5 separate regions of the Homo sapiens genome follow, and regions 2, 3, 4 and 5 are each linked to region 1. The links are contacts of gene promoters, found by promoter capture Hi-C in blood cells and fetal thymus (Javierre and others, 2016). All regions are on one chromosome and are shown on one strand. The core of a region is centred on a gene start or on the middle of the fragment in contact, and the rest is flanking DNA. Distances in the headings are between cores, read along the strand shown.

Evidence for each region. Contacts are between HindIII fragments. The CHiCAGO score rates a contact against its expected background, and 5 or more counts as called.
Region 2: a contact is called between a fragment that was not itself captured here and the fragment with the promoter of GAS7 in region 1, in 6 of 17 cell types (monocytes, neutrophils, M1 macrophages and 3 more). The highest score is 15.8, in monocytes.
Region 3: a fragment that was not itself captured here is called in contact with the fragment with the promoter of GAS7 in region 1 in 9 of 17 cell types (neutrophils, monocytes, M2 macrophages and 6 more); the score reaches 26.6 in neutrophils.
Region 4: a fragment that was not itself captured here is called in contact with the fragment with the promoter of GAS7 in region 1 in 11 of 17 cell types (monocytes, neutrophils, M2 macrophages and 8 more); the score reaches 27.8 in monocytes.
Region 5: a contact is called between a fragment that was not itself captured here and the fragment with the promoter of GAS7 in region 1, in 8 of 17 cell types (neutrophils, monocytes, M0 macrophages and 5 more). The highest score is 17.1, in neutrophils.

The regions. Positions count from the first base shown.
Region 1 is chr17:10,195,632-10,200,560 of GRCh38, forward strand. It overlaps GAS7 (growth arrest specific 7), which reads right to left and starts at 2,975. Exons shown (of 14, transcript NM_201433.2): 1 at 2,577-2,975. The coding sequence starts at 2,759. The HindIII fragment of the contact is 8,346 bases long and covers 1-3,964 here.
Region 2 is chr17:10,041,259-10,046,265 of GRCh38, forward strand. The region is part of intron 1 of GAS7 (growth arrest specific 7); the gene reads right to left. Among named protein-coding and RNA genes, the nearest start is that of RCVRN, 140 kb to the left of the region's middle. The HindIII fragment of the contact is 7,290 bases long and covers 12-5,007 here.
Region 3 is chr17:9,963,229-9,968,276 of GRCh38, forward strand. All of the region lies in intron 4 of GAS7 (growth arrest specific 7), which reads right to left. Among named protein-coding and RNA genes, the nearest start is that of RCVRN, 60 kb to the left of the region's middle. The HindIII fragment of the contact is 7,970 bases long and covers 1-5,048 here.
Region 4 is chr17:9,979,537-9,984,923 of GRCh38, forward strand. It overlaps GAS7 (growth arrest specific 7), which reads right to left. Exons shown (of 14, transcript NM_201433.2): 3 at 2,268-2,348. Among named protein-coding and RNA genes, the nearest start is that of RCVRN, 77 kb to the left of the region's middle. RefSeq lists an enhancer at 1,614-2,115. The HindIII fragment of the contact is 8,587 bases long and covers 1-5,387 here.
Region 5 is chr17:10,064,775-10,070,083 of GRCh38, forward strand. All of the region lies in intron 1 of GAS7 (growth arrest specific 7), which reads right to left. Among named protein-coding and RNA genes, the nearest start is that of GAS7, 130 kb to the right of the region's middle. RefSeq lists an enhancer at 3,606-4,105. The HindIII fragment of the contact is 4,005 bases long and covers 599-4,603 here.

The DNA of each region.
Region 1 (4,929 bases), core at 1,725-4,224:
CACATTGGCTGACATCTCATGAGGTTCGCCATCTCCAGTATCTATGGGCCCCCTCTCTAGTCTCATGAGTCCAGATGCTGGCCAGTCTACCCACCAGCCTGGGGACCTCTGCATTCTCTGAGTCTGCCCTTCAGGACTCACCCCATCCCAAGCAACTCTGCTTGCATGTCCTCTATCTCTACCTAGCCTTCAGCCTTGAGGTCCAACTTGCTCATGTAGGAGGTTCCCAGATGCCAAGCACCTGACCCACATGCCCCCCTGTTGAAACTGCATCTGCTTTGGCCCTGAGAAGAGTCCCACCCAGTACTTAGGATACAGGACTCGGGCCCACTGTGGGAAGACCCCCAGCTGGTTCTGAGTAAAGTCACACTTTGGGGTTAGCAGGGAAGATCCTCCAAGTTGCTCCTGGATGCAGCTGTCCTCGTTTTAGCCCTAGAGGTTCAGCCTCCCCTTCGCGGTGCTGTCACCAACATGCTGACCTCAGGGGCTGCGCATGCCCCTTTTCCCCATGGATCCAGACCCTTCGCTCACACGCTGTTTGGCATAGTTGAGCCCGGGCTATCATGTTTAAAAAAGGCACAGGCGCAGGGGGTGATACTCAGTCATCTGAGCTGCTAACAAAACACGCAAGCATTACTAGTTGGGGAGCTGACTTCGCCTCTCTCATATTCAGCTTGCTTGTCTATAAAATGGGGGAAGTACCTCACCCTTCACAGAGCTGTCAGGGAACTGGTGATAACGTGCACACACTGTGCCAAGCAGGTGCTCAGAAGTATTGCTCACGCAGATGGATGCTTCTGTTGCAAGTTACTAGTCAGGAATGGTCTGAGAGGCCCTGAGACACCAGAGATCTCTTACCTTTGTATATGCCAGAGGATGGGACAGACACACCCAAAACTGTCCCAGTTGTTAATTCCGCTTGTCCCCTGGCCCTGGTCCATCGTCCCTTTCCCGGAAGAAAAAGCAGCACTCCACTCTTGCTAACTAACACCTACCCAGCCTCACCCCTACACAAAACACAGCTGGCTCAGTCCAGCCAGGGATGCTCCTCACCGGACAGACATCCATCAGCCAAATTTCCACATCAGAATTTCCTGGAAAAGGGTGACCACCCGAAGAACTCCCAAAATACGTATCTATCCCAGGGCTTCAAGCTAGAAACAAGGAGGCCCCTTGCTTCTCATGTAAGAAGCAATACGTTCGCTTTCTTTTACATCCGAATCTCGGGAAAGGAACTGGAAAAGCCAGGGCAGGGCACACCTGAGCCTCTCCTACAAGTAGGGTATCTCCGGATTCTCCAGATACAGAACCAAGAGGGTTCCTGCAACATACTCTGCTGACAGCCCATGAAAGCTCATTCCAGCAGCCCCTAAACTTTGCTCAAATGCTACTGATGCCTTTAGGAGAGATTTTGTTGTTCTCTGGACCTGAAAGCAATCTAATGTACTTTTATAAGGCCAGGCTCTTGCTGACAATGTTGCCACAGGATACATCCTCAGGCGGACTCACCCTGTAACCATTTCACTTCTTTCTTTCTTCCCCCCGCCCCCGATGAATTGCACTGAGCATTCTCAGTCAAAATTTGCTACTTTCTCTGTGAAGTAGGTCAAGAGTTAAATAATAAATAAATTCAGCCTCCATGATTTCTTCCGGCAGTGTTTTACCAGAATGTTTAGGAATACTGACACCATTGAAGGTAACTGTTAATTTAGTCTTTACAAGAATCCTGGGGGCAGGCGGGCTTCTAGTAAAGGGGATGTCCTGGAAGGTCACCCCCCCACACACAAAGGACTTTAGAAACTTCGGGTCTCACTCAGGCTGTGACTGCGAGCTCAGTGATTAGAGGACAGCCTGTCACATAGACAATAAACAGCCAGCCGCCTTGCCTCAGCAGGTCCTGTGCAGCCCTGGGGCCAGGCCAGAACCCCAGGAACAAGCCACTTTCGGGTTCTGAGCCTTAGCCTCGGGGAGCTGGACCAGGGGAGCAGGCAGTGGCGGGGGGTGCTACGGCACCCCAGGATCAAGCCTGCTGAGGGGGCTCGGGCTGGTGGCCAGCAGGCTCGGCTGACCAGCAAGTGGGTGGTCCCGAGGCGGCCAGGCAGCCTGACCCAAGGCAGCACGACCGTCCACGGGTCATCAGGCTCTAGACTCCGGGGTGGAGACGCGGGGCTGCGGGACCGAGTCGGTGCCACTTTCTCGCACCCCTGATCCTCCGTGCCTCTTCCCAAGACCGCCAGACCCTTCACCGGCCCCTGCCACTGCCGGGAACGCTCCCGCCTGCTCCTTAACTCACACAGGCAACAAGTTCTCGCTTCCTCAGAGCAGCCACGGTGTGCTCCGGAGGCCCGGCGCAAGGTGGAAGCTCCCCGCGAGTCCGCGTTGCCCACGCCCCGAGGGGCGCCCGCTGCCGTCGCTGCCCCCCAGGAGCGTGGAGCTACAGGTAGCGCCGGCAAGGGCTGCCCCCCGGGGCGCCCCTCCGACCGGGACGCTGCGGCATCCCCGGAACGGGCAACAGGTACGCGAGCGCACCGAGGACCGCAGCCCCGGCTCCTACAGCCCCGGCCCTCGCCCCTTACCTCCAGCAACTGCACGTAGCTCGCCGGGAACCAGCCACGGAGCCCGTCCTCCTTCTCGCCTTCCCACCAGCCGCCGTCCGGGACCTGCAGCAGCGTGATCAGCTCGCCCGCGGCGAAGCGCAGCCCCTGGCCGTGCCGCTCCCCGGAGAAGGGGTACAGGGTCCGGCAGCGAGCGCCGGACATGGCCTTGGCGCCCGGGTTCACAGCGCAGCCTGCATTCCCGCCGAGCCCCACGGGCTGGGCAGCGGCTCCGCGGGGTCCCAGGCGCCCGGCGCTCCGGGCTCCCGCGCTCTGGGCGCGCGCCGTCTCTGGGGTGCGCGGGGGTCCTCAGGCAGGCGGGGGACGCGCGCTCCGCGCCGGGAAGCAGAGACTCGTTGGCTTCGCAGAGCGAGCGGCGACGCCCCCGGGCCGGGCAGCTCGCGGATCCTAGCTCTGGGCTGGGGGGCGGGGCTCAGGGGGAGGAGACCCAGGCGCCGCGGGCTCCGGAGACAACTTCCCGGGAACGCGGAACGCGGGCTGCCGCCGCGAGGGCTGGCCGGGGCCGGGGCCGGGACCGGGGCCGGGGCCGCCCTGGCGCGCGGAAATGCGCAGCTCCCCCGGGAGGTGGGACCCGGAGCATCCCCCGCGGCAGGACTCCGCGGCGGGCGGCCGTGGAGAGGAGCTGGCGGCCGGGTGGCCGGGCGGGGGTTAGCTCACTGGCGAGGGGGCGGGCCGGGGCGGGGCCAGGGCGGCCACGCCCGCGGAGGGCTGCGCGCTCCCTCGCAGAGGGGCCTGTCACTGGGGAGAGGGGCTCCCACTCGCGCCCCCACCGCCGGGGACCGCGGGAATGGAAACGCCCCTCTGTTCTGTGCCTGCTTTGTAGGCCTGGCGGCCCGTGGCGTGCGGGCGGCTTCTTCGAGGTGTCTGCGAGGGATCGTTTGTGGTTGTCATTGTAGTGGTTGAACCTGGGGTTGAACTTGTCTCACCGGAAACTGAACAATGGGTGAAAGACAGGTTTGAAGCCTGGCGCCTGAGCCCAGCAGCCTGGTGGCAGCGTGGCACGCTGGAGGGACGGAATGGAGAGAAGACGGGGTCGGAGTTGATAGAATTGGAAACAGTCGATGGGGATAAATGGAGGAAAGGCGAACGGTGAGAGGAACAGCACCAATGCTTTTACTTGCAGAGGGAAGGCCGGCCCAGGGTACCAGCCCTCCCGAAATCGAGATGGGTTGGCTAAAGAGTCTACACTCATGTAGTCAGTCAACAAACATTACCAGGAGGCTGCCATGTTCCATGCGATGTGCCAGGTACTACAAACATCATTTGGGCCAGTCCCTGCTCTCCAGGGACCAGTGAACCTGAGTGCTGCAGAATGTTGACCTTGAACTGACCGTACAGAAGTAAAAGAAAGCTTGGTTTCTTTGCTAGTCTACTCCATAAAAAATTTTAAAGAAATAAAATAAAGTACATTTTTTAGCCTGTAAATAGCTGGACTCGGCCAGGCGCGGTGGCTCACGCCTGTAATCCCAGCACTTTGGGAGGCTGAGGCGAATGGCTCACTTGAGGTCAGGAGTTCAAGACCAGCCTGGCCAACAAGGTGAAACCCCATCTCCACTAAAAATACAAAAATTAGCCGGGCGTGGTGGCGGGTGCCTGTAATCCCAGCTACTCAGGAGGCTGAGGCAGGAGAATGGCTTGAACCCGGGAGGTGGAAGTTGCAGTGGGCGGAGATCATACCACTGCATTCCAGCCTGGGTAACAAGGGTGAAACTCCGTCTCAAAAAAAAAAAAAGCTGGACCCTTTAATACGCCTGTATACCTCTGTCTACTCCTTCCCCCCTCCCCCAGTCACCTTCTGTGGCTCCCTATTGCCTTTTAAATTTGGTACAAACTTCTCTGCCTGTACATTTCAGGCCCTCCACAACGCCTCCTCTAGCTTCACCTCTTACTATGACTGCCTAGATATCCATTACAAAACCAGTCAGGCCGGGCTCCAAGAGCCTGAAGATCTTGCGCACCTGTCTATGCTTTGAATCAGACCCTGGCACAGAGCCTTTCACCTAGTTCAATGGTTCTCAATCCTGGCTGCACATTACAGTCATTATGCAACTTTTTAAAAATACTCATGCCCAGGTTTTAAGAGTCACTACTGAGCCCTAGTCTGCAGCTAAGCCATCTCACCTGAGCAGCCTCCATCTGTTCTCTGGCCATGGGCAAAGTGACACAAGCAGATTATTTGTAATAGTCCATCAATTGCAAAGTCTTGAACATTCGCTTGGCCGGAAATATAAAGAAACAAACTCTTGACCACAGTCACCACTAAGAGTCCCTTAAAGCGGAGCTGCATAACTTCATATCAAAAACAGTCATTAAA
Region 2 (5,007 bases), core at 2,407-4,906, 150 kb before region 1:
ATGGCCATGAAAGCTTTCATAGCCTGTGACTCCTCAGTTTTGTAACAGCAAAGAGGGGACAGTTTTGATGCTGTTAAACATTAACAGCCGTCTCCGACACCACTTTGACATTGCATCACACAGACGAACAGATACAATCACAGACAACAATGCATCACTCCAGGCAACACACAGAAATCACTGTCATTGCAAATCCCAGTAGGGCCCCCAGCCAAGGGCAAGGGACCTTTCCGGGCCATTACAAACCAGGAGGCTGATCTGCTGTGGCCTGACCTCAGCAGAACACACTAGTCCTGCAGACATTTAATTCTTTAGGATTCCCCAAAGTTAATCTCTCAGAGTATGGAAGACTCACGAATACATTCTAAGGGTTTACTGTTTGGGTTCATCCTAGCATCTCAATCCAGAAGTCACTTTGGTTTTCCTTTATTAACCATCCTTAGTGATTAGCGTTGGCCGTGAAAAACACGCTACTGGTCTCTCCTTGTGGCCTCTGCAAATAGATAGGTTGCTACATATGAAGCCACACACACGAACGGCAGACAGCAGAGAATCCGTGATCCCAAAGCAAAAAGACTGATGATATTTCCACCAACCTGAGTTTTCCTGAGTTCAACGGCATCAGATAAGACCAACCCTCTTATTATTTTTTTCGTTTCAGTCAAGTTGAAAACTGTCAACCAAAATAGGCCTTATTTGCTGTAGGCCCTTGTCCTCTGTAGGATGAATTGGGTTGTCTTAAAATGATAATTAATAGGCCGAGCACGGTGGCTCATGCCTGTAATCCTAGCACGTTGGGAAGCCAAGACGGGCAGATCATGAGGTCACGAGTTCAAAACCAGCCTGGCCAATATTGTGAAATCCTGTCTCTATTAAAAATACGAAAATTAGCTGGGCGTGGTGGCACGTGCCTGTAGTCCCAGCTACTTGGGAAGCTGAGGCAGTAGAATCACTTGAACCTGGGAGGCAGAGGTTGCAGTGAGCTGAGATAGTGCCACCGCACTCCGGCCTGGGTGACAGAGCGAGACTCCGTCAAAAAAAAAAAAAAAAAAAAAAAGATAATTAATAAGAAAACACATCTGGGTAGGGTGATGACTCACTTTTGTAACTGCTTCACAGTCATGAACGGAAAAATTATTCATCAGCCCAAGCAGTCTCTAGGGTACAGGGTCTCAGGGACGCCCCCTTCCTCCATACGTGGCCCCCTGTCTGCATGATCAATCAACCAACTAATAGTTACTAACTACCCTTTCCTGAATCCTGTGTGGGATGCAGGCAGGTATTGTATGTAGGACCTGACTCCTAAAATTCGGAAGCTAAGTCGCAAACATGGGCAAAAAAAAGGAATAAGTATCAAAGGAGTCTTCAACAGTGCCAAATGCTATGTGATAAGCTGGCAGACAATAAGAGCTTTCAGAATCCAGAGGAGGGCGAGGTCACTCTTGGCTGGGATGGTACAGGGAGGCTTCCCAAAAGATAAAGAACTTGCCTCACAGCAGGGATAAAAAACAAGGGCTTGACTGGAGCCCGAGGAACATGATGTACGAAGCAGAATAAGGTTTGATAAAGGACGGGACATAAGGAAATGAGAGACAGCGAAGTTGATTCGGAAGGAAATGACAGAAGTTCGAACCAGTAACTCGAAGAGATGTGGCTATGGTGACAGCCAGTTTAGGGGGATGCAGTAGAGTCTGTTGACCATGGATCCAAGTTCAAAGTGTTCGGTGGGGAGTAGGGGTGAGTCTGGCCCTTGGCACATGGAGCTGGAGCTGGAGGCATCTGCTCAGAGATGGTGGTGAGATCCTACAGGCTGACAAGGAGTTCACAGAGAAAGAAAGGACCTTGAGCTGAACCTTGGGGCATGCTCTTGCTTAAGCAGTGGGAGAAGAATTATTCTCCCCCAGCATGCCTCAGGCCCAATCCCTCCCTCTCCTGTGCCTTTCATTAGTGCATGCAACACCCCCAGGGCCCCTCTCCAAGACTTTCAAAGGCAAGAACCAGGTCTTCATCTTTTTCACCTCTAACCAGACTAGTGCTCAACACTCAGGGGCTACATGGGGAATGAACGATGTGAGTTCTGAGAATCAGGCAGAGAAACCAAATGAAGAGGGGGGATACAAGAAGAAATAAGTACAGCTGACCCTTGAACAACACGAGGGTTTAGAGGTGCTAACCCCCATCTCCCCATGTGGTTGAAAATCTGTACCTAACTTTTGACTCCCTCAAAAGTTAACTACTAACAACCTACTGCTGACTAGAAGCCTTAGCGATAACCTAAACAGTTGATAAACATGTATTCTGTATGTTATCCATATTACAGACTTTATTCCTAAAGTAAGCTAGAGAAAAATAAAATGTTAAGAAAATCATAAGGGGCCGGGCACAGTAGCTCACACCTATAATCCCAACACCTTGGGAGGCTGAAGTGGGAGGATGGCTTGAGCCCAGGAGTTCGAGACCAGCCTGGGCAGTCTGGTGAGTGAGAGCCCATCTCTACAAAAATAAGTGAAGATAAAAAATAAAAATAAATTAACCTGGCATGGTGCATGCCTGTAGACCCAGCTACTAGGCAGACTGAGGCAAGAGTATTCTTGAACCCTGGAAGTTGAGGCTGTAGTGAGCCAAGATTGCTCCACTGCACTCCAGCCTGGGCAACAGAGTGAGACCCTGTCTCTAAATAAATAAATAAAATCATAAGAAAGAGAAAATACACCTACAGTACTGTACTGTATTTACTGATGCCATAAGTTTACATCATCTGTTTAAAAGATGAAACCTTTGAAATGGTGGCAGCAGCAGCTGCAGACGTCAGTCTACGGTACCTGACAAGCAATTGAACTTTTTCTTGTAATGTCAGGACTTTTCTCTGCTTCTGGGGAATGCTTTCAGCATCACTAGTGGCACACTCTATGGGTCCCATGGTGTTATTCGAGGCTTATGGCATTGCACTAAACATGATGAAAAATACATAGAACAGTGAGGGCTTACATTTTACTGCGATACCCAATTTACTGGAGTGATGAACTGTTCATCCAGGGCTGATCAGCATCACATGACAAGCCGATGCTCTCAACACCTGAGCTCACTGCAATAACAACTAGGGGTGGCCATGAAGTTACTACAGTATATACTATGGCTAGTTTTATGCAGTTATGATTAATACTACATCTTTGCCTTTGTTTACATTTTGCTTAAATATGAATGGTGCCATACACAGTCTGAGTGTTTGTGTGGGTAAAATTTTAAAAATTTTAACTTTCTGTAGATTTGTATGTATTTTGTGGTAGTAAATGATAAACTAGTATCGAATATATTTTATGTATTCACGGCATGTCTAACATTTTCTAAATTTTTTTGGTATTTCTAGACTAGGTAGTCTGTCTTCAATTTTTTTCAAATTATCACAAATCTCCAAAAATATTTTCCAATATATTAATTGAAAAGAATCCACATATAAGTAGATCTGTGCAGTTCAAATCCATTGTCTGAGGGTCAACTGTAGTTAAGAGTGTCCGGCCAGGCGCGGTGGCTCACGCCTGTAATCCCAGCACTTTGGGAGGCCGAGGCGGGCGGATCATGAGGTCAGGAGATGGAGACCATCCTGGCTAACATGGTGAAACTCCATCTCTACTGAAAATACAAAAAATTAGCTGGGCATGGTGGTGGGCACCTGTAATCCCAGCTACTAGGGAGGCTGAGGCAGGAGAATCACTTCATCTTGGCAGTGAGCAGAGATCGTGCCACTGCACTCCAGCCCGGGCGACAGAGCGAGACTCCATCTCAAAAAAAAAAAAAAAAAAAAGTGTCCAAGTGAGATGCCAAAGAAAATGCTCGCTGAATACAGAAAGGGTGTGTCTCATTTATCTTGGAAAGAGAAATATGGAAGAGTGATGGGTGTAGACTTGGATCACAGGCACACAAGGACCTATGAGCATAGGATGCAAAGGGAAGCAAGATCTTTAGATAAGATGCCATTAAAGAAGAGAACAAGAAAGAGGACAGGCCATAGACTGTGGCTGGCTCCAGACCAAGGGCTGTGCTGGGCAGAGGGCTCCCGTGAGGTGACTGCAGCCAGTTTCTTGTACATATCATGGTAGAGTCCTAGGACCCTTATAAAATTTCTATGTGTCCCACCCCATAAAAGATTCCTAGTATTGGCCGGGTGTGGTGGCTCACGCCTGTAATCCCAGCATTTTGGGAGGCCGAGGCAGGTGGATCACCTGAAGTCAGGAGTTCAAGGCCAGCCTGGCCAACATGGTGAAACCCCGTCTCTACTAAAAATATAAAAATTAGCTGAGTGTGGTGGTGGTCGCCTGTAATCCCAGCTACTCAGCAGGCTGAGACAGGAGAATTGCTTGAACCCAGGAGACAGAGATTGCAGTGAGCTGAGATCGCGCCATTGCACTCCAGCCTAGGCGACAGAGTGAGACGCTATCTCAAAAAAAATTCCCAAGTATCAAGTGGACATATCAGAAACGGCACCCAGTTGAAAAGGCCTCCAAACAGCCCTGATTCTAAGAGATCCCACAGCTTGGTTTCCCCTTCCTGCAGTCATTCATATCCCACTGTGACACCTTGTTCCATCCATCACTGTGTACCAGCCGCACTATTATTTACTCAATATTTTTTTCGAACTGACTTATATCCCACTGAAATGTAGTCTGGCCCTAAGCAATAATATCTATGAAATCACAGATTTGATTTGGTTTCTTTCTACTACACACTAAAATAAATATAACTTTAAAACTGTCATCTCCACATGATCTAAAATTATCTCACGGATCCTTAGTTGGAAACTCAGCACACTTTGAGAAACACTGTCTCTGGCTACACATCAAGTCACCATGCAGCATCCACAAAGTGGTTCTGGAGATTCTTTTTTTTAATCCAGAAAACTGAACTTGAATTCTCTACTGACTACGTCCCCACAACGACAGGAACACGGTACCCGGCGTGTGACTGAATCTCTGGGAGATTAAGGGCATGGCAAAAGGAGATGCAGGGGAC
Region 3 (5,048 bases), core at 466-2,965, 230 kb before region 1:
ACCACAGATAGTATGATACCATTTATATGAAATGTCCAGAAGAGGCAAACCCATAGAGACAGAAAGATTAGGGGCTGCCTAAGTCTTCAGGTGATTCTGCTTGGGTTGATGAAAATGTTCTAAAATAGATTTGATGATGGTTGTAAAACTTTGTAAATATAGTAAAAAACACTGAATTGTATACACTTTAAATGGGTGAATTGTATGGGTATGTGAATTACAGCTCAATAAAGCAGTTTTTTGGTGGGGGAAGAGAGAGAGAGAGAGAAACAACAGAGACACAGCAACCAGTGTATCTGTGTGTGAACCTGAAGGGATCCTGGACTGGGGAGAAAAGCAGCCATAAAAGGGATTTGGGGGCCAGGTATGGTGGCGCACACCTGTAACCCTAGGCTTTGAGAGGTTGAGGTGGAAGGATCGCTTGAGCCCAGGAGTTCTAGAATTCACGAGCTATAATGGTGTCACTGTACTGTAGCCTGAGGTACAGAACAAGACCCCATCTCTCTCTTTTTTCTTTCTTAAAAAAAGGCATTTTTTGAGACAATTGAGGAATCTGGAGTGTATATATTAGGCGGCATTATTGAATTAATGTTTTCTTAAATATGATAATGGTATTATCATTATGTCTTCTTCCTGGAAGATACATTCTGAAATATTTGCATTTAAAACAGTAAGTCAGAAATGTGGTTTAAAATAATCTAGGGGGTGGAGGGCAAGGGGATTGGGGGAGGGGATGGGAGCACAAATAAAACAAGATTGGACAAAGGCAGGTAATCGTTGGGCTTAACAGATTTGTGGTACCTTATTATATATTCCCTCTACTTTTGCAAAGGTTTGCAAATGCCTATAATAAGAGTATTTGTTTTAAATTTCCTTTGCCTGTGATTCCAGAGAACTCTTCCCTTCCATTTATTTTGTAAAGGCCTGCCCAGGGGTCAGGACACCCCACCTGGGCATCTCTGCATCACCCTGAGGCCTGGCAGGGGGTGATACCACACAGGAAGTGCTTGGTAAACTGGAGTGGGTCATTCACAAGTGATTCAGCAGGCCCCCGACTCCAAATGTCTTCTCAGCCCATTTCCTCCCCCCCTGCAAATAATCTGGGTCCCATCCCTTCAGCAGGTGGGATCCTGTACAAAACCCCTCAATGGCTTCCCAGTGCAGTTAGGATAACCCCTGAGCTCCTCGTGGCAGGCCTGCGCAGACTACCCCAGCCTCATTTCCCACCCTCCCTATTCCTGCTGATTTAGTAAGCCACAGCCACACTGGGTCTCTATGCGTAAACACGGTTCCCCCTTGCTGCCTCCAGGCATCCACGATGCTATTCCCTCCCCTGGAAAGCTATTCTTTCCCCACCTCTTTGCCAAGTGAAACCCTTGCTCATCATTCCAGTCTTAGAATAGGTATCTTTTCTTAAGGTACCTTAATTCCTGACATTTCCAGCACCAGGCTAGGTTCTCACAGCATCCACTTCCTCCAGCCTTTGTCACTGCTGAAATTGCACCATTATTTATCTACTGTTTCTCCCACACCAGCCATAAAACTCCATCAACGCAGGGCTATAGATATCACCTGTGTCTCAGTGCCTGACAAAGACCGAAATTGCTCAATAAGAACATGTGTTATTGAATTATTGAGGTAGGTAGGAGGTGGTGGAGATTAAACATCTCACCTCTTTCTCCACTTTGAACTCCATGCTCCAATGGGTCCCTCAAGTTTCCAAGCCCTTCGTCCCATTCTCTTTCCTCTCTCCTGTGTCTAGAGGGTCTTCCTGGGAAGTTCGTGAGAAGCCAGAACAATTGAAAGGTGGATCACAAAAAGGCCCAGGCACTGGTGGGCAGGAAGGGAAGGGACCCACTAGGACGCGATTCTGCAAAGGCAGCAAGACTATTAGCCTTTGATCTAGAACCGGAAATACCATTTGACCCAGCAATCCTATTACTGAGTATACCCAAAGGAATATAAGTCATTCTACTATAAAGACACATGCACACGTGTTTATTGCTACACTATTTACAACAGCAAAGACTTGGAACCAACCCAAATGCCCATCAATGATAGACTAAAGAAAATGTGGCATATATACATAATGGAATAGTATGCAGCCATAAAAAAGAATGAGTTCATGTCCTTTGTAGGGACATGGATGAAGCTGGAGGCCATCATTCTCAGCAAACACAGGAACAGAAAACTAAACACCGCATGTTCTCACTCATAAGTGGGAGATGAACAATGGGACCATATGGACACCGGTGGGGGAACATCACACACCAGGACCTATCGGGGCGTGGGGGATAAGAGGAGGGAGAGCATTAGGACAAATACCTACTGCACGCAGGGCTTAAAATCTAGATGACAGGTTGATAGGTGCAACAAACCACCATGGCACATGTGTACCTATGTAACAAACCTGCACGTTCTCCACATGTATCCCAGAACTTAAAGTAAAATAAAAAATAAAAAAAGATGATTCGCCTTTGATCCCTCGCCTCTGCCCCCGAATCAGGTGGGCTGCATTTACCCAGTACCTGGGCCGACTGCCCCAGGGCTGCAGAATTGAAACCCTCCACTGGGTGGCACCAGATCACCACCTCCTGTGCCCACCCATCCAGGTCTCCAAGGGCTGAGTGAAGGAGCGGGGCAGGCACCCTCAGGAACTGTGGGGCACCCACTATCAGTCCTCCCCATGACATAGTATGGTGGGGACACGTTACTGGTGTCCGTGGAAAGTCCCTTTCCCCATCCCCCGACACCCACCCCCCAAAATTCTTTTTTTTTTTTTTTTTTGGAGATGGAGTCTCGCTCTGTCGCCCAGGCTGGAGTGCAGTGGTGCAATCTCGGCTCACTGCAAGCTCCGCCTCCCTGGTTCATGCCATTCTCCTGCCTCAGCCTCCCGAGTAGCTGGGACTACAGGTGCCCGCCACCACGCCCGGCTAATTTTTTGTATTTTTAGTAGAGACAGGGTCTCACAGTGTTAGCCAGGATGGTCTCGATCTCCTGACCTCCTGATCTGCCTGCCTCGGCCTCCCAAAGTGCTGGGATTACAGGCTTGAGCCACCACGACCGCCCCCTCCCCCCAAAATTCTAATCTTCCTGATCAGCTTGCTCAAGGAGGGGCAGCTAAGCAGGGGGCGGAAAGAGATCACAACCGGGTTTTGAGATCTGGGGCTTTCCAGTCTAGGTTTCGTCACTGTAACCCTGAACATGCCACTTTATCCACCCCACATGCCGCATCTCAAGTGTTCCTTTGCTCATTTATTCATTTATTGATGTTTAAGTGTAGTTATCATGAGTGATAACTGACAGCAGGGATGGTGAATCTACTCGTCTGCATGCTGGAGTGGGGTCTATACCTGGGGACCCTTTGTTGGTAGAGCTCTCTGTAAACACCAAACCTTCTTAACCTATTTGTATGTTTAACTCTTGGCACCTTTTTGGATAACCAGCCTGCAGGCTCACAAACCAGGACAAAAAGTAGTAGCTAGCTGGGCGTGGTGGCCGGCGCCTGCAGTCCCAGCTACTCCAGAGGCTGAGGCGGGAGGATTGTTTGAGCCCAGCAGTTCCAAGCTGAGGTCACAGTGATCTACGATCACCTCCATGAACAGCCAGTGCATTCCAGCAAGGGCAACACAGGGACACCCTGTTTCCTAATTATTTTTAACTTAAAAAAGTAGTAGCTTTTATATACAAATGTTACCCTTTCAAAGCCTAAAAGAATAACATTCTACCTCCTGATCCTGGGACTGGTGAACAACGCACGTTCGCCCTCTCCATATACTACATGATTTATTTTTGTTACCCTGATGACACCTCAGCTCCCAAGGTTACCATCCAAAAAGAGTCTGACTCAATCCGCCTGTCTTTAGGCAGCCACTATCTACCCGGGCCTGCATCTCCAGAGCTCGCCTCTCCTGAATTCCCCATACTGGTACCTACTTTGTAGCTTTTTTTTTTTTTTTTAAGTAAAAAATTGTATCTGCCTTCTATAAAAGTAAAATGTGTTCATTTTAGGAAATTTGAAAAATAACAACAAGTGTAAAGAAAATAAAATGACCCATGATCTTAGACCAAAGGTTCTCAACTTCAGCACGATTCATGTTTTCAAGTTGAGCACTTCTTTGCTGTGGTGTCCCATGCCTTGCGAGATACTCAGCGTCATCCCTGGTGTCACCTACTAGTTGCCAGTAGCACCCCCCCTCCCCAGGCGTGACAATCCAAACGTCTCCAGACATTGTCAAAAGTCCCAATTGATAGCCATGATCTCAGACGCAGACAGAGCCACCGTACGTTTTCCAGTTTTCCTTCTAGTCCTTCTTCCTAAGTATAGATAAGTATAGATTTCCTTCTGCCAAATAAGACTGACTATATATGCAATGTGTGTCCTACTTTTTTTTTACTCTATTTTATGTTGTGAGTACTTTCCCAAATTATTGCATTTTCTTCAGAAGCATGCTTGCTAATGGCTGCATAGTATCACTGGCTAACCTCCAGCGCCATCATCCCTTTTACCCATCCCCTGTTGCAGGACAGTTAGGCTGGGTCTAGTGTTATGGTGCTGTAAATAATGTGTGAGTGAATAGCCTTGCACATAAATCAGAACCCCTCAAGATACCCCAAGAACAGACACTAGACAAGACATCCCTGTGTCGATGGCTTATAATGCACAGTGTTAAATCAGCTTCTGAGATATCAGTTATACCAGTGTCCATTCTTTAAAATAGATGAGTAACAACTTCACAGTATTTCAGAAGGGATTATGTTTTATCAGGGAAGAAAGAATGATTTTGAGGATGGGGAGCTGTTTCTCATATTCTTCCTGATGATGCCCAGGGTAACACCAGATTTCTGTCATCGTTGCTGAACCACATCAGAATTTAGGCTGATGTCTTCCAAAACAGTCTCAAATCAGGAGACAAAAGTAAGTTTCACTTCAAACAGGATAACAGAATCTGTGTTGAGAAGGCAAGCTGGGAGCTCAGCAGGAAACATACAAAGCCACGGTTGATTCATGATGGGTGACATGAGCAGAGGAGAGAAGGAGACCGATA
Region 4 (5,387 bases), core at 2,598-5,097, 220 kb before region 1:
CCCTTCTGCAGGACAGCCCCCATCAACAGCAGAGAGGACAAGATGCTGCCTGTGGAGGGTCCCAGGAGAGCAGGCTTTGGAGAAGTGACCCCATGACTCAAAGGGCAAGTCTCGACCAGCCTCACCAACGGGGCAGGCTGCGAGTCACACGTGCTGTCTCTACACATCCGAGCCTCCCTCTGCCGGCCTCCCTGTCCTGTCCTCCTTCACCGACCACTCTGGCTGGAAAAGACAGCTGGGTTACCTTTTTAGTGTCTGGCTGGCCTGGAGCCAGCCAGGAAAAAGGACACACCTTGCGTCATTCGCACTGGCATTTTGATTGTTTTAAAAAAAAAAAAAAACACAAGAACAACATTGAAAGAGAAGCCAGTGGGCTCAGAACTGCCTGCTGTCACACGGCAGCTACAGTACGAACGGGCCCATTTCTGGGGACTTGGTCTGAGATGGCAGCACTCACTGTCTCCCTAGGAAATCCGTCACAGCTGCCCCATGTCCCTCCCACACAGGGGGTTCCTTTCTTATTTTTTTAAAAATTTAATAATATAAATATAAATAAAGTGCTTTTGAAAACCTAAAATAATTTTTGATAGAAAACACCCACCTTCCTATCACCTCTCCCACGCCTCAGCTGATTTTCTAGAGGTAATATTTTCCCATCTTTTCCAGTTTTGAGCTCTTCTGCTGGCAACTGTCATATGCCTAAGCAATATGCTTTGAATGTGCACTTTCATGTCTTCAGGTCTCAATGCTAGACAATATCCAAAGACTCCCTGCTCTGAAAGGTGAGGATCTGGCCACTCGCTTTGCGTCCCACCTCCCTCTTCCGATCCAGTATTCCAGAGTCCTGTGATTACCTTTGGTCCTTCCTGTGGTTCCCTGTGCTGCTTCAGGTAAACTATTTAGACCAGGGATTACTTTTTCTTCTGAAAACTTTACACAGGCTCTCACCTCCCTTCCACAGAAGCTGAGGATGTCACGCTCAAGGCATTGGAAGATTAAATTCCCAGCCCCAACCACAACTTTGACTTTCATGCTTTGCTGCCAGATTGACTCCTGAAGTCGAAAACCAACAAGTGTGCTCCACACACCATAGGATGGTGGAGACATTGGTGAATTAGTTCAACACGGAAGCCAGGCTCTGCGGACTGAGGATATCACAAAAGAAACAGACAAAGTCCCCACCCTCAGGGAGCTTACAGTCTAGCATGGGAGAGTGAAGGTCAACTAGGAACAGGATGATGGGGACATTAAAATAGCATGCGGCTGAGATCTAAAGTGACTGCATGAGGGCTCAAAATTGAGTGGTCAGGGAAGGCTTCTTGGAGGAGGTGACATTTTTAAAAAGCCACATGAAAGGAGATGTTGTTCTCCCTGCTGATGGGTCCCATAACCTGCCTTCCAGAATCTCAGACCTAGATGTCTCCCAAGAGGCCCCTGAACAAACCTCCCACCTATTATAGGAATGTCCATTTCAGCCAGGCGCGGTGGCTCACACCTTTAATCCCAGCACTTTGAGAGGCCAAAACAGGTGGATCACTTGAGACCAGGAGCTCAAGACCAGCCTGGCCAACATGGCGAAATCCCGTCTCTACTAAAAATACACAAATTAGCCGGGTGTGGTGGTGCGCACCTGCAATCGCAGCTACTCGGGAGGCTGGGGAACAAGAATCCATTGAACCCAGAAGGGGAGGTTGCAGTGAGCCGAGACTGCACCACTGCACTCCAGCCTGGGTGACAGAATGAGACCCTGTCTCAAAAGAGAAACAAACAAACAAACAAAAAAGAACGTCCATCTCAACTGCCTCTGCTTGATTACCTTTGCAGATGGGGAACTCACACCCTCAAAAGGTCTCCCTCACACTGTTTCAGGTGTTTTATTTGAAAGCTGCCTTGTAAACATCTACCTCCTTTTAGCTTCTACTCCGTGATGTCCACAAGAGCCACATAGGGTGGTTCTGTCCACACTTCAGGTCTTCCTGCCCCTGACAGACAGGAAAGAGCTCTGACACCTCACCTCCCCCAGCCATCTCCTCCCACTAAGCGCCTGAGGAGGAGTGTGCAGGAGGCCACCAGAGCTGCTGCTGGCACTGCCAGGGAGACACCAACCTGCTTGGCAGCAGGCCTAAGGGACCCTCTCCCAGGCCCAACCCCTCCCTGGGTTTGCTACATCAGCCAGGTTTAAGACCCAGGACCCATCATCTCAGCCTCTCCACTGAATGTGGCATCAGGGCCCTCCCAGTTGCCCCAAAGCAGACAGCGGACATTACCTGTTGGAGGCAGAGAGCTCCTGTGAGAGCCAGGGCTGGCTGGAATCCCAGGAGAACTGCTGGGACGTTCCCAGGTGGTCTCTGGTGAAAGAAGAGCAAAGAAAATCACTTTGAGAATGTCACAGGGCAGAACCTGAGTTTCACAGAGCAGAAGGAGATGCTCAGAGCTGGAGAAAAAGAGAGACAGCCAATCGCCCTCCTCCCCAACCCTGGCCAGACAGGACCCTGCTTTCTGCTCCCATATCCATCCATCTCCCTTCCTGGCCCCTGCCCCCTTCCACCATCCCATGACCACAGAGCTTGTTTTTGCTGGGGGCCCTTCTTGATGAGGCTGGGGCCAGAAGGAGATGGACTTCCTGTTGAGATGTCAAGATCCTCTAAAATATCCTCTGCCCCAACCTGCCTCTTCATTCACCCCTACTTTGTCTCGGGGCTCTGGACTCTTCTCCTGGAACCCTGAAGTTGCCAACCAGGTATTTCTCCCCAAATGTCCACTGTTACCTGAAACTCCAAAGCACAGAGGTGCAGGAGCCTGTAAAGAGACAGGGGCCCTCTGCCACCTGGTGGTGACTTCCAAGTTTCTTCCTGATTTCGCAGTTCTAAGTCTCATTTGAGCTGTAACTGCTGAATTTGCCTGGTCACCTCTCTCTCTTCCAATGCCCTGCTACAGGCTCTAATCAGAAATAAAACTGGCCGGGCACAGTGGCTCACAACTGTAATCCCAGCACTTTGGGAGGCCTAGGTGGGCAGATCACTTGAGGTCAGGAGTTCGAGACCGGCCTGGCCAACATGGTGAAACCCTGTCTCTACTAAAAACACAAAAATTAGCCAGGCGTGGTGGCACGTGCCTGTGATCCCAGCTACTCAGGAGGCTGAGGCAGGAGAACCCTTGAACCTGGGAGGCAGAGGTTGCAGTGAGCCGAGATTGTGCCACTGCACTCCAGCCTGGGAGACAGAATGAGACTCTGCCTCAAAAAAAAAGAAAGAAAGAAAGGAAAGAAAGGAAAGAAAGGAAAGAAAGGAAAGAAAGAAAGAAAGAAAGAAAGAAAGAAAGAAAGAAAGAAAGCAAAGAAAGCAAAGAAAGAGAGAAAACTAATACTGCAAGCTATAGTATTGTCCCCCAAACACTACTTTACCCATTTCACTGCCATGAGCAGAGACTTCTTATGAAGTTATCTAGTGATAAAAATAATACTTTCTCACTACATACAATTTGATAATGCAGGAAAACACACAAAAATAAATATCACCCATCATCCCACCATTCAGAGGTCATCACCATCAACATTTTGGTATCCATATGTTGATTTGTTTTCTAAGCATATGTTTCTCTTTAAAATGAGACAAAATCAAACTATAGATTCTTTTTATGTATAAATTTTTGTGAATACCTTTCCAAAATCTGTCCAGGCACAGTGGTTCATGCGTCTTATCTCAATACTTTTGGGAGGCTGAGGTGGGTGAATTGCTTAAACTCAGGAGTTTGAGACCAGCCTGGGCAAGATGGTGAAACCCCATCTCCACCAAAAATACAAAAATTAGCCAGGTGTGGTAGCACGTGCCTGTGGTCCCAGCTACTCAGGAGGCTGAGCTGGGAGGATTACTGGAGCCTGGGAAGTCGAGGCTGCAGTGAGCCATGATGGCGCCACTACACTCCAGCCTGGGTGACAGAGCAAGACCCTGTCTCAAAAAATGAAAATAGGCCGGGCGCGGTGGCTCATGTCTGTAATCCCAGCAATTTGGGAGGCCGAGGCGGGTGGATCACTTGAGGTCAGGGGTTCGAGACCACCCTGACCAACATGGTGAAACCCGATCTCCACTAAAAATAACAAAAATTAGCTGGGCGCGATGGTGTGTGCCTGTAATCCAGCTACTCAGGAGGCTGAAGCACGAGAATCGCTTGGTCCTGGGAGGTGGAGGTTGCAGTGAGCTGAGACCATGCCACTGCACTCCAGCCTGGGTGACAGAGTGAGACTCCATCTCAAAAATAAATAAACAAATAAAATAAAAATAAATTTTAAAAACTTTCCAAAATCACTGAAGGGGGCGGTATAGCAAAGTAGTTAGGCTCTGTTTAGTGTGGTGATTCTAGACCCAGACTGCCTGGGTTGGAATCCAGCTCTGCCTCTCACCACCACTATCCTTGGCCAAGCTACTTATTCTCTGTGACTCCCTTTCCTCCTATGTAAAATGAGTTCAATAAGGTGTCCACCCAAGGGAGATACTGTACCAATACCAAAGGCCCACATACATGCCTCTAGCGCTAAGTCATTTTTAAAGTTAGTCTGATATGAGGATATAACATTATTTAGTTAAAAATTCCATTACTGAAAATTCAATTGTTTCAAACAATAAAAACAAAACTGGGTTCTTGACTCAACTTTGCTCCTAAACTACCGTGCAGCCCTAGGCAAATCGCACCACCCTTCTGGTCCTCTGATGCTTCATCCAAAATAAAGAGGTTCGGCTACTTGGTCTCGTAGGCCCCAATACTCCCGCTCTCTAGGTGTGATTGGTGGTCTCAAGGCCCATGGTTTGGGTTTCAGGAAGGGTGAACCTGGACTCCAGGGGCAGGCATAACAGGGGTAATATGGTCCCTTCATGTCTTAAGGGAGAGAAAACAGAATTGAGGGTGATCTGGAAAGCAGAGACGGTGTGAACATAAACCAGACAGTAGTAGGGTCTTTTATGAGGAGTGACAAGGAGAGAGGCTGCCAGCAGGCTTAGGAGCTTCTCCAAGGGACCCACTGGCTGGCAAGAGCAGGAAGCCTTGGAGAACTTACTTCAAAGACCACTGCCCTGCTTAGGGCCCACGTCATAAGCCATTCATACGCTGAGTGACCTCTGGAATCATCTGAACTCTATATTCTGTTTTTCTCAACTATAAAATGGGGATGAAAATGGTACCTAAGTAGGCTGGGAAAGAGCATTAATTGGGTTCACCTGTACAAAGCACTTAGGATAACATCGGGCACATGGTATGTGCTTTCTCAGCACTAAATAAAACAGACAGACAAGCCCGGTGGAGCTTCGATGAGCAAAAGCAGCGAGGTGGGCATCCCCAGGAGCAGATGCACCATCCAGCCTCAGGCTCCTTCCTAGGCAGGCTTCTCTTCTCTC
Region 5 (5,309 bases), core at 1,351-3,850, 130 kb before region 1:
AAACCATGCCTGAAGCTGAACTTCCTGGGACTGTTCCTTTTTTGTCTGAATCCAATTTGAGTGGGATTTCTTTTCACTGGATCTCGCTCTGTCCCCAGGCTGAAGTACAGTGGTACAATCATAGCTCACTGCAGCCTCAAACTCCTAGGCTCAAGTGATCCTCAGCCTCTCAAGTACCTGGGACTACAGGTGTGTGCCACCACACCTAGTGAATTTATTTTTTATTTATACAGATGGGGGTCTCACTACGTTGCTGAGGCTGGTCTCAAACTCCTGGGCTCAAGTGATTCTTTTGCCTTGACCTCCCAAAGAGCTGGGATTACAGGTCTAAGCCTGAATAGGATTTCTGTAACATTTAATAGAAAGAGTCCTGGCTAATAGTTCCTTGGTAAAGGGCAAGGTATACAGATAGCAACAATCAAAACTAAAGAACATAAAGCAGGGAGAATTTAGAGATTTGGTTCCTTTCTTGAGCCTGCACTTGTGGGTAAGCTTCTCTTCCAAAGATATCTGCATTTCTAAAAACCTTCCTTTGGCCACTATAACACTTGGTGTCTTAAAGCAACAGAAATGTATTCTCTCACAGTTCTGGATGCCAAGCTTCCAAAAATTAGTATCACTGAGCTGAAATCAAGGTATTGATAGGGCCATACTCCTCCCAGAGGGTCAAGGGGAGAACTCAGTCCTTGACTCTTTCAGCTCCTGGTAGCCGCTGGCATTCCTTGGCTTGTGGCTGCATCACTCAAATCCTACTTCCCCAATCATACCCTTTGTCTTCTATCTACAGTCAAATCTCCTTCAGCTTCTCTCTTATAAAGATGCTTGTGATTACATTTAGGGCTTACTCAGATAACCCAGGAAAACCTTCTCAATTCAAGATCCTTAACGTCATTGTACCTGCAAAGACTCTTTTCTAAATAAAATAACATTCCCAGGTTCTGGGGATTAGGACGTAGACAATCTTGGAGAGCCACTATCAGCTGCCCTCATCAGGCCAAGTTGGACCATGGATCAGAAATGTTGCTGTCAATACCTCTGATGCTTCCCCAGGTCCTCCTGGCTGGGACCTCTGGGGCCAACTGTGCCAGTCACATAACACTGGAAGAAGAAATAGCCAGAATGTTGGAGCTGGACTCAGAGTGGAAGATATGCAAGAGCACAGAGTGCCAGGGAGGTTCAGCAGGATTGGGAGCCCCAAAGGAGGTCTATCCGGAGCTCAAGTTAGGGGGCTGTATGCTTGGGGCCAAAATGTAACTTGACCTTGAGATAAGATGAAGGGAATTACAGTATACCCCTCTCCATAACCCCATTTCCCCAGTGACCAGATTGCTATGGCGTAGGGTAGGAAGGCACCATCTGTAGTGGAAATGGGAGGGAGAGGAAAGTAGGGACTGAAGAAGCACAAGAGAGACTGTGACAAGGAGCCAAGGCCAGGCTAATTTGTCGCCCAAGCTGGAGTGCAATGGCATGATCTCGGCTCACCACAACCTCCGCCTCCCGGGTTCAAGCGATTCTCCTGCCTCAGCCTCCTGAGTAGCTGGAATTACAGGCATGCGTCACCACGCCTAGCTAATTTTGTATTTTTAGGAGAGATGGGGTTTCTCCATGTTGGTCAGGCTGGTCTCAAACTCCCGACCTCAGGTGATCCGCCCGCCTCGGCCTTTCAAAGAGCTGGGATTACAGGTGTGAGCCACCACACCCAGCCTGGCCAGACTACTTTTTTTTGTTTTGTTTTTTGTTTTGCAGAGACAGACTCTTGCTATATTGCCCAGGCTGGTCTTGAACAGCTGGCCTCAGGCCATCCCCTCACCTCAGCCTCCCAAAGCACTGGGATTGCAGGTGTGAGCCACTGTGCCTGGCCTACAAGGTCAATTTTTTTAAAAACAGTTAACTGTTTATTTCAAGGTCTATTAATTAGGAAAAAACATATAAGTAGTTTGAAAGCCTGAGATGTGACTGTCATTCTGCAGGACATCAGGACAGCCTTTCTCTGCTTGGATTGGCTCCTGGGGTCACTGAATTTTGGAGTCAGGGGGAGCATTTCTAGGTCACCAAGTCCTGACAGTGTAGTGGTGAAGAGAGTAGACTTGGGAGCCAGACTGCCTGGGTTCAAATCCATGCTTTCCCAGGACAAGTTGCTTGATCTAGCTGGACAATCTCAAGTCAGCAATTCCCGTGAAGACAAAAAATAATAATGATGATGTAAGTATTAATAATAATACCTGTTACAAGGATCAAGTGAGTTAATAATGTACACAAAGCATTAAAAATTGGCCTCTCTTTGCTGACACTGCAGGCAAGTGATAGCTCCTTCTCCCAGCTCCATGGTTCTGCCATCCTTTACAAAAGGCTCTGATGAAATATGGGGGAGGGATGGGGTGGCGGGAGTGGAGTTTCCAGCCCACCACAGCAGAGGCTCCTCTGCCTTCCATTTTATTCCAACTCCCTTCACTTCTTCATGCAGACAAGTGTCCCACTTCTTTTTTTTGAGATGGAGTCTCGCTCTGTTGCCCAGGCTGGAGTGTAGTGGCGCGATCTCGGCTCGCTGCAACCTCCGCCTCCTGGGTTCAAGTGATTCTCCTACCTCAGCCTCCCAAGTAGCTGGGACTATAGGCGCATGCCACCACACCTGGCTAATTTTTGTAGTTTTAGTAGAGACGGGGTTTCACCATGTTGGCCAGGCTGGTCTCGAACTGCTGACCTTGTGATCTTGCCTCAGCCTCCCAAAGTGCTGGGATTACAAGTGCCCGCCACCACACCTGGCCAAGTGCCCCATTTCTGAGCTTACCTCAGCCCTATACCCCCACCCCCTCTGGCTAGGGGGTAATCAGAAGGAAGACCAATAGGACCAATGCTGAATACCTGCCTGGTGATTCACACAGAATAATCAGGCCAACCTCAAGCTAGGAATGTCTGCAAACACCTGTCCTAGTCCCCCTACACCATGACAGTTCTTTGAAAATACATCCCAGACACTCTCCATTAACCCTGCCCAGCCCTGGTTCAGGGTGGGCCTGATCGGAGACCATCAACCATCTCCTGTAAGTCTAAACAGAGGCTCAGACCGGGAGAAATAGATTCATACATAACTGAATCAGGTCCTTCGGAGGAAAGTTGATATCAACATTCCTTAACCTTGACACTAACCACTGAGGTGTGGTCACTGTTACGTTTTGTAAAGAATCGGGGTGTGGCCTCTCTGATATTATAGGTCCAAACCAATGGTCTCTACCTTGGTCATTCCCATGAAAACTATTTTGGGATTGTGCTCTGTCCTTCAGAGGCTTAACACAAACCATACCTGAGACTTCAGCCACACATAAACACACTCCAATACTTCCTCCCAAACCTTTTAAGCTGCTTTGTACGAAGCACAGTGACATCACACAGCACCCCAAAGAGGGACAGGCACCCCCATATGCACTTGATAGGCCGGCTCTTCCCAGAAGCATCATCAACTCCTTCAGGGCGCTTCCCTAAGTTTGATCCTAGGAGAACTTCTGCGGAACCTTTGCTAGAAAGCCCCTGACCCATTGAACCAGGATGACCCACTGACCCAGATGAAGCCCTGGGTTTCCTTCCCTGACCTGAAAACAGAGGCAGGCTATGCTGGGAGTTCCCAAAACCACCCTCAGCTCTGATGTTTCCCAGAAGGACTCATGGGACTCAGCATATGTTTTACTTCTGGTAAAGACTTATGGCCAGACACAGTAGCTCACACCTGTAATCCCAGCACTTTGGGAGGCTGAGGCAGGAGGATCACTTGAGGCCAGGAGTTCAAGACCAGCCTAGACAACATAGCAAAACCCTGTCTCTTAAAAAAAAAAAAAAATCACAAAATTAGCCAGGCATGGTGGCACACGCCTACAGTTCCAGCTTCTCGGGAGGCTGAGATGGAAGGATTGCTTGAGCCCAGGAGTTTGAGGCTGCAGTGAGCTAGGATCGTACCACTGCAATCCAGCCTGGGTGACAGAGTGAGATCCTGTCTCTATTTTTTTTTTAAGGGTCTTATTACAGCAAAAAAATACAAAGCAAAATCAGTGAAGGGACACAGAACCTGGGACAAGGTCCTGAGAAAACCAGGCGCAAGTTCAGGAGTCCTCTCCCAGCAGTCACATAGGATGTGCCTAATTCCTCCAGCAGTGAGTCCTGGTAGCATGTGTAAAACACTGTCTAGCAGGTAAGCTCATTACAGACTCAGTGCCCAGAGTTTTTATAAGGAGCTGGTCATGTAGGCATCCCCTGCCTAGCACAAACATGAATTGCAGACTCCCTGAAGAAATCCAGGTATTCAGCACAAACCGTATTACTCACATGAACAGTTTAGAGAACAGCCACCCTTACTATTCAGGGAATAGTGGGAGCCCTTCCTAAATGCAAGTTCCCAGACACCAGCCAAGGAACAATGTTGCCAGCAGGCCTTTCTAAGGAGGGCTCCCCGGCCTGCTACGTTGACTCTCTCTGCACCATGTCCGTGGAATGGTTACTTGAAGGGATTTCCCCTTTTGTCTGCCCATCCAGTGGCAGAATCCTGCCACTAAATCCTCAACAGGTGACAAGCCTCTCAAACACTTGTGCGGACAGAGAGCTCACTCCCTCACAAAGCTTCCTCTTCCATGTTGGCCTGTGATCCTTGCTAGTCCAGGAACACCAGCCTCTGAGTTCAGTATTTCATGCCAATAAACACTTCACATAATAACCACCACTACTATGATGTTGGGTCAGGCCTTGGGCCAAGCACATGACAAGCATGAGCTCATTTAATATTAATGTTTTATGATGGAGTCAACTATGCCTTAGAGACGCAAAGCGACTTGCCCAAGGTCACAGTGTTAATGGGTTTGAACTGTGGTCCATTTGACCCCACAGCCGGAGACCCTGAACCTCCCACACCCAGTATCTCCCGGGAGCCTATCTTTCACTGATCACCATTCTAATTTTCAGCATACTCTCATACCACTTTTTCCTCTTATTTGCTAATATTTTTAGTTGACTCACTTTTTTCTTTTAAAAATTGCACTGAACAGAAAATTGATGTGAGTCTGTGAATGGAAAACTAGTGACATTTGCCAGAAATCTATAATAACCATAAAAATAACCACAACAAACACCAAGCAATGTTATTCAATCTTTGCTGGATACTGCTACCTGCTGAGGCCTGCCCTCACCCGGCACCTCCCAAAACTTTCTCCTCAATGTAATCAGAAGCAAGGAGAGAACTGCAAAAGGAATACCCTTCTCTTGATGTGATTCACTGGTACTGAAAGTCTCGTCCAGAGACCACCTAAACCCATCTTGGCACAGCATCT